Linked DNA regions of Homo sapiens: region 1 is linked to region 2. Evidence: promoter capture Hi-C in human tissues and cell types (Jung and others, 2019). All regions are on one chromosome and are shown on one strand. The core of a region is centred on a gene start or on the middle of the fragment in contact, and the rest is flanking DNA. Distances in the headings are between cores, read along the strand shown.

Region 1 (2,500 bases), core at 1-2,500, 180 kb after region 2:
TACTGTGTAGTTTGTGCTTTGAGGCTTGCCCAAGGTGGGGCCGGGCCCAAAATGGCTGTTGATCCCATGGGGTGGCGGGAGACCAGGCTGAGGGACAGGGGGCTTTAGGGAAGGCTCCCCTACTGCCTGAGGGAAAGTGAAACGCATGGGAGAGGGGGTGCCCACAAATGCACCCGTCCCAGGGGACCGGACAAAATTGGGGGGCTGCCCACTTGGGACCTTGGCATGGAGCTCACCTGCTGGCCCCGCGGGCAGGGCTGCTGGGAACCCCCCAGCCCCCAGCGAAGTGTGGGCTAGAGACCCAGCCTTAAAGGCAACTTCAGGGGGCTGGGGTCGGGGTGGCTTATGCAATGGGGCAAATGGGTCACGGGACTGAGGGCGTGAGGGTGGGCGAGAATAAGGGTCAGGGGACTGGAAGCGAGGGGTAACGGGTGATGGGCAAAAAGCTTCAGCAGACAGAGGCCGGGGTGTCAGTGGAGACTGGGAGCTGGACTGGGACTGAGGACTGGCAGGCACTCGGGAGAAAGGGTCGGAGGGCAGTGAGCGAGGGGGCAGAGCACAGCAGCTCTCAGGGGGCGGAGGTTGGGGCCGAGGAGTCAATGGGGGCTGAGCATATGGGTCAGTGTAGGAGCCAGGGCGAAAGATGTCTGGGTGACTTGGAGGAGAAGGTGCCAAAGCCTGGGCAGGGGGTGGCTCCTGGGGCCTTAGGCCCAAGCCCGGGCTCTGGGGCTCTACCTGAGATGCCCGAGGGGTCAGGGGGGCTTTGAAGACATCAGGTGTCTTTAACTCCAGGCCACCCAGGTGGGTGCCTGAGGAGGGTGAGTCAACAAAGCCCAGGTTTGGGGGCCCATAGCTAGGAGAGGATGCCCCAAGCTCTTCCTTCTTCACCTCTAGGGCCTTCCGGGACTCCCCAAAAGGTGGGGGCGAGAGCAGGGGCTCGGAAGCTTTGCCTCCCCCTACCCCAGGGCTCTCAGGCACAGCCAAGTTATCCAGCGAGGGGCAGCGGGGTTTGAGGAATGGGTCAGGTGTGGAGGGCTGGTGTCTGGGGGTGCCAGGTGGGGTAGTGTGGAATTCCCCTGGCTGGCCAGCCCCAGGACGAGATGAGGCGCCCAGCATCGGGGGCTGCGCAGGGGCCCCCGTAGGACTAGGATAGGGGGGATAGGTGGGCGGTGCCGTGGGGAAGCGGGGCTCCAGGGGATAGGCAGGGGCCAGTCCAAAGGGGTCCTGCGAAGGCACTTGGGCGGGCACCTGGGGTGGGAGCTTGAGGAAGAGCTCACCAGGCGAGTCAGGGCCAGGCACCGAGCCCGCCGGCGGCTTCAGGAACCCGTCCGCAGAGGTAGACAAGCCGGCGGGGGTAGTGGGGCTGCCAATGAAAATGGTGGGGGCAGCAGCGGGGGGCGGGCTGCCCAGTGCCCCTGGCTGCGGGGGAATGCGGAGATGTAGGGCCGGTCGGTCAGTCTTACGGGCTATGTCGCCCACCTTGGTCTGCTTGTTGATCTGGCTCTCAGCCTGCTACAGGGGGAGACCAGGCATAGGGCAGTCAGGCTGCTGCAGGCAGGCCCCATGGCCCTCCACCCTCAAGAGAGGCCACCCACTAGAGGACTGCTACACCCCAGCCCAGCCCCACTCACCTTCTGCACCTTGTTGATGCGGTGAGCTGCCCGGTTATCTTTGGCCTTTTGCTGAGGGATATGGGACACAGCCTTAGGGCCTAGTGCTTGGTCTCATGCCCCGCCCCCATACTGTAGTGTTTTCACACTCCCTACCCAGAAGCAGATCCCTTCTGGCCCAGCTGCTTTAGGAGTGGGGAGCGGAAAGAACTGAGGTAAATTACCCAAAGATCCCTCCCTCCCTCTCAGTTCCCACGCTAATCCATGCTCCTTTCTGCCTCACCAGGTAGGGGGCTTTGTCAGCTGCTGGAACCTTTCTCCAGAGCTTCATGATTTGTTTGCAACGGCTTGACCAGTCTGGAGGGCAGAGAGAGTGAGTCAGAGAAGACTTGGCAGGCGACTCCTCCACCTGCCATGTTGCCAGGCTGTCTCCCTTGCCCTCATCCCACAGGTACCTGGGTAGTCTTGCTTGAGATTAGGAAAATTAATGTTGGCATAGAGCACAGGTGAGATGGTGGACAGCTGGCCCAACTCCTCATCCTTCTCCCAGCGCTGAAGACTCCGCTGGTTATAGGAGAGTCCGTCGCCCTCACCCTCCGTGGTGGGGGTTGTGGGGGTGGAGGGCGTGGTGCCACCTGAGCCCGTCCAGGGGCTGTCGGGCTCACCGGGTTCCGGGCTAAAGAAGCCCCCGCGCTCCCTGGGGCGCAGGGGCAGAGAGTCACAGGGCGCAGGGATGCCAAGTCCCACCCCAGACAAACTGCCTAGAGCCCCAGGCCACTGCCCTGCCCCAAAAGAGGAGGGTCACTAACAAGGGAATGGGGAGGAGCAGGGGAAGTGCTGCAGGAGTCCGAGGGAGGCAAAGCATGAACTCAGATGGAGGGAAAGGACAA
Region 2 (5,589 bases), core at 9-2,508:
TTGGACCATGCAACTGAGTCCACCAACTGTCAGCCCTCCCCACAACTAATGAGTCTTCAGATCCTCTTTTTTCACTTCTCCCCACCAAAGGGGAAAACAATTTCTAAAAGACAGCAGCTACACAGCAGACCAGTAGGGGTGGGAAAGGGGTATTTGGAGCAGAATTCTTACCTGAGGTATCCCAGAGACTAAGCTCCACCCTCTGTTCCTCTGTCTCCAAACAGGCTGTGTAATTTTCGAACACGGTGGGCACATAGGTCTGTGAAAAGAGAGGAAACATTCACCCCATGCACCCCTACCCTCAGATCCCCTGGTTAGTGCTGGCTACACACGCACTCACCAGAGAGACAGTAAAGTCACAGGAGACAAGAAACCAGAGGAGATGCCTGGGGCAGGAGGGAAGGGACTGTGGAGGACCAGGCACTTTGCTCTGCAGCAGTGAGAAATGTGAATGACACCCCCCCACACCACCACACCAGGGGTAAGCCCCCCATATCCTAGGCGATCAGGGACACACACACACACAGATTCCTCCCATCCCCAGATTTGTGTTTCCCAATTTGAGAGAGCCACAGGCCAAAGCCAATCCTAGCTCATCTCCTCTCAAACCCCTCCCGGCCAGGTGAACAGAGGGGCTGCAGAAGCCTGCCTGAAGGCACAGGCATAGAGCCTTTGAGGAGCAGGTGAGCGGATAGGCAGGGATTACGTCAAGAAGAAACCCCAGACTTTCAAATGCCTCCAGTGCCCTCACCTGAGAGCAGACTCCAGGGACGCAGGAAGGTGGAGGGGATCTGATGGGTCCTCTGGGTGAAGAGGTGAGGAGGAGCCAGCGGGGCGGCAGAAGTGGAACAGGTCTCAGGGGAAGCTAAGGCAGGGCAGTCCTCCAGCCAAAAAGCAGCTGAGGATGGTAAAGCCTCAGAAAGCGGCTGAGGATGGGCTGGGGCTGGGGGAGCCACGTCTCCTGAGCAGGTGGAAATCTACCCCAAGGCGGGCAGGCAGGGAGAAAAGCCGGCCAGCGGGCGGGCGGGCAGCTCACCTCTGGATAGCAATCCTTCGCTAACACTTGCAACATCGCGGTCTTCCCACACTGCACGTCCCCGACCAGAACGAGCTTACATCTGGCCACGACTGGCTGGGGGGCCCGTCTCTCCTTCATGGTTGCAGTGTCCGCGGGACTTGAACTTCGATTCAGAAGGGAGGGTTGCGCCAGGTGCGTCTCAGCACGCCAATCAAGCCAGATTCCCTGCCTCCCTCCAACTGAGGAGGAGGCCGGCACAGCCGCCTTTTATTTTTCTGGCTGAGCCAATCACAAGAGGAGGCGGACTCTGTTACGCCCAATCCCTGAGGTGGGATTCCCTCCAGCAGCCAATGGATCTGAGGATCTGAGTCAGCGCCCCCTTCCTCCCTTCTCTTTCTCTTAAAGCTGCACCGTTGTTTCCCCCTGAAAGGGGATTCCCAGGTTGTTTTGCATTTGTATTAGGAAGTGGAAAGGGTACTGGAAGCAAAATGAAATGATCTGGAGTGTCTACCAATAAGTGTCAGAAAAACAAACTAGCTATGGAAGCAGGAAGTGAGGTCAGGCTGGAGTTGCAGGGACTGTCCCGGGTGGGTTACAAAAGCAGGACCTGCTTAGACTATAGACAGGTGTGTGTGTGTGTGTGTGTTTTGGAGGAGTAGGGGATGGGGGAGGTGGCCCAGAACTTCTCTGACATTTTTTTTCTTTTTTTTCCTTACATCTTTTGTTTTAAATAGAGACAGGGGTCTCACCATGTTATCCAGGCTGGTCTTGAACTTCTGGGCTCAAGCAATCCGCCTGTCTCAGCCTCCCAAAGTGCTGGGACTACAGACATGAGCCACAGCGCCTGGCCTGATGTCTGACTTTTTTGTTTTTTCTAATTCCCATCCAAACCAGTTCTTACTTCCCTTTATTTCCCCTCCCAATATCAGCTCCTGCTGTACCTCTTTTATTTATTTATTTATTTATTTATTTATTTATTTATTTATTTATTTATTTATTTTGAGATGGAGTTTCGCTCTTGTTGCCCAGGCTGGAGTGCAATGGCACGATCTCAGCTCACTGCAACCTCCATCTCCCGGATTCAAGCGATTCTCCTGCCTCAGCCTCCCGAGTAGCTGGGATTACAGGCATGCACCACCATGCCCAGCTAATGTTGTATTTTTAGTAGAGACGGGGTTTCTCCATGTTGGTCAGGCTGGTCTCGAACTCCCGACCTCAGGCGATCCGCCCGCCTTGGCCTCCCAAAGTGCTGGGATTATAGGCGTCAGCCACCGTGCCCGGCCTGTGCCCCTTTTAAAGCCTTCTCTTCTTCAAGAATCACCTTCACCACCAAAGACAGAGAGAGAGAAAGAGAAAGAGAAAACTTTCTAGAGTCATCCATAAAAAAAACACACAGCACCTGACCCAGTGATGGGCAGAGAGAAATGAGGGACTCTGGCAAGTGGGGGTGGGAGAGAGGAAGAAGACAAAGCAAACACAGTCACTGTTTGGCCAGACAGCCTCTCACCCATGCCTAGCAGAAGCTGCTTAGGGGTGTTTGTTCTGCGGCCTAGGCTCAGCTTCCTGGATGAATCAGGCACAGGTCCAGTTCCATGTTAACGCCCACTGAAACTGACGCACTAATGTGTGTCACCTGGTTAAAGTCCAGACTGGGCCCAGGATTTTGGGATTAGAAGCTGGAGGACAATCTAAGGTTGAGATGAACTACATAAATTTTTTTTTTTTTTTTTTTTGAGATGGAGTCTCGCTCTGTTACCCGGGCTGGAGTGCAGTGGCTTGATCTCAGTTCACTGCAACCTCTGCCTCCCGGGTTCAAGCAATTCTCCTGTCTCAGCCTCCCGAGTAGCTGAGACTACAGGCGCACGTCACCATGCCTGGCTAATTTTTGTATTTTCAGTAGAGACAGGGTTTCACCATATTGGTCAGGCTGGTCTCAAACTCCTGACCTTAAGTGATCCACCCACATCGGCCTCCCAAAGTGCTGGGATTACAGGCGTGAGCCACCGCGCCCAGCCGAGCTTCATAACTTCTTAACAGCCCTGACTGATGGGGCCCCTGTATTTTGGGGAGCCTCTACTAGACAGAACTATGGGCTGTCCACAGCTTAAATAAACCACTGATTGTCCAGGAATCAAGACCGTACAAATAAGGGCTCCTGGAGATTTGTGATTGAAGGAAGACCAACTTTGGGCAAAATTGAGAGTAGTCCCTTTCCCTTGTCAAGCCCAGTGTCTCCTGGGCCTTGTTTCATCTGAGCTTTACTTTTTTTTTTTTTTTATACAGAGTCTTGCTCTTTCACCCAGGCTGGAATGCAGTGCCACAATCTCGGCTCACTGCAAACTGTGCCCGCCGGGTTCAATCGATTCTCCTACCTCAGCCTCCCGAGTAGCTGGGATTACAGGTGCCTGCCACCACACCCAGCTAATTTTTGTATTTTGAGTAGAGATGGGGTTTCGCCATGTTGGCCAGGCTGGTCATAAACTCCTAACCTTAGGTGATCCACCTGCCTCGGCCTCCCAAAGTGCTGGGGTTACAGGCGTGAGCCACTGTGCCCCAGCCTGAGCTTTACTCTTAATTCACAGTTGTTGCTGCCCCACCCAGGGATAGTTTCCCTGTGATAAAGGATGCTTGAAAGCCTTTCACAGACCCAAAGGGACAGATCTCTAAGAATGAGATTTCTAGTGCCCACCACAGGCAGTAGGAGAGTGGATGTTGTTTTGAGAATACAGCCTAACCAGTGTTCCTCCAGTCAAACCTCGTCGTGGCTCTGGGGCCAAGGCCTATACCTGCTCTCCACCCATGTCCTAAGCTCCATTCACTTCCAGGGATGGGGAATGGCCTGAGGGAAACTTCAGGGTGGAAAGGCCAGATGTTACCATTAGCTGGCTGCCGTCTCTCCCAGGCTTTCTGAAGGTTTCTGCCCTTTATCTCCCCTCATCCTCCACCCTCAGATAATGTTCTGTGGATAGAATTTGTCCTCTTCTTGCCCTTTTCCAGCAGCCTGACAGCCTCTGTGAGCTGTCTATAAGTGGGGTTTGGGATAGTTCCAGGAACAGCTGTAAGATCATAGACTGCCTCAATCTGGAGTCCTTTCCCTCAGCCTGACCTTCTCCTTCTGTATCCTCCTGTCCCCTACCTTCAGTCTCATCTGGGCTTAGTTCTGGAAGCATCAGTAGAGTTCCTATGCATCCTCTTTTTTTTTTTTTTTTTTTCCGAGACAGAGTCTTGCTCTGTTGCTCAGGCTGGAGTGCAGTGGCACAATCTCCGCTGACTGCAACCTCCGTCTCCCGGGTTCAAGCGATTCTCCTGCCTCAGCCTCCTGAGTAGCTGGGATTACAGGCACGTGCCACGATGCCCAGCTAATTTTTGTATTCTTAGTAGAGACGACGTTTCCCCATGTTGGCCAGGCTGGTCTCAAATTCTTGACCTTGTGATCCGCCTGCCTCGGCCTCCCAAAGTGCTGGGATTACAGGCATGAGCCACCGTACCCAGTCCCCCATACATCCTCCTAACCCTTAACTGAGTTCCCTCCAATCACAACCCCACAGGTGTTAGCCTTCTCTCCATGTTCTCTACCAGCCTCCCCCTACACACACCATTCATCCACCACTCCAAATAAACTTTCAGAATAAGTAAAAATTGTTCCTGCTAAGCAAACAGCTTCTTCTGGCTTCTAAGAACATTGCCATTCCTGAGCTCCTCCAAGACAGAAATTCTGAGAGCTGGTGCCAACACTGATTCTTCCCTGGGTGGCTGCATTTCAGGGTCAAGTAGCAGAAGGCCCGAGCCATTATACAGAGCAGCCTCCACCATGGCTGAGGCCCAAGATGTGTCTCCAAGGATATTTTGTGGGTCATATGTTTATGAGTTTTGGTGGAAAGGGTGTTATGTGTGTGAAAGCGTGTGTGTTAGATCAGTGGGCAGGGAGGTAACAGGAAAAGGATGGAACTGAAGTTCAGCAGGTCTAGGCCTTGGACCTCGCTCTGCCTTTAACAAGCTGTGTGCCTTTGGGTAAGTTACTTCCCTCTCTGGGTGCCTATTTCCTTAAATGCAATGTGAGGGATTTAACTAGAGAAGAAGTTTTTAGATGTTATTTAGTTTATTTATTTATTTATTTTTTTGAGATAGAGTTTTGCTTTTGTTGCCCAGGCTGGAGTGCAATGGCACGATCTTGGCTCACCTCAACCTCGCCCTCCCGGGTTCAATCGATTCTCCTGTCTCGGCCTCCCAAGTAGCTGGGATTACAGGCATGTGCCATCACACCCAGCTAATTTTTGTATTTTTAGTAGAGACGGGGTTTCTCCATGTTGGTCAGGCTGGTCTGGAACTCGTGACCTCAGGTGATCCACCCACCTTGGCCTCCCAAAATGCTGGGATAACAGGCGTGAGCCAGCGTGGTTGGCCTAGATGTTATTATTATTATTATTATTTTAGCACTTAGATTCTCTCCTCCAAATTTGTTTAAACCTCTTTTAAATAACTTTATTTCAAACTCCATAGCCAAGACCAGGTGTTGTGGCTCACACCTATAATCCCAGGATTTGGGGAGGCTGAGGTGGGAGGATCACTTG

Evidence for each region. The method cuts DNA at HindIII sites, captures the fragments that hold promoters and counts their contacts. A contact is called where the count stands out against the background at its distance.
Region 1: a contact is called between a fragment that was not itself captured here and the fragment with the promoter of RND1 in region 2, in 3 of the 25 tissues and cell types used here (adrenal gland, dorsolateral prefrontal cortex and lymphoblastoid cells).

What each region holds. Positions count from the first base shown.
Region 1 is chr12:49,040,024-49,042,523 of GRCh38, forward strand. KMT2D (lysine methyltransferase 2D) reads right to left here. Exons shown (of 55, transcript NM_003482.4): 29 at 2,066-2,307; 30 at 1,894-1,967; 31 at 1,632-1,682; 32 at 1-1,512. Among named protein-coding and RNA genes, the nearest start is that of KMT2D, 20 kb to the right of the region's middle. The HindIII fragment of the contact is 6,740 bases long and covers 1-2,500 here.
Region 2 is chr12:48,864,612-48,870,200 of GRCh38, forward strand. It overlaps RND1 (Rho family GTPase 1), which reads right to left and starts at 1,259. Exons shown (of 5, transcript NM_014470.4): 1 at 1,037-1,259; 2 at 172-259. The coding sequence starts at 1,156. RefSeq lists enhancers at 1,073-1,192, 1,453-1,582. The HindIII fragment of the contact is 19,361 bases long and covers 1-5,589 here.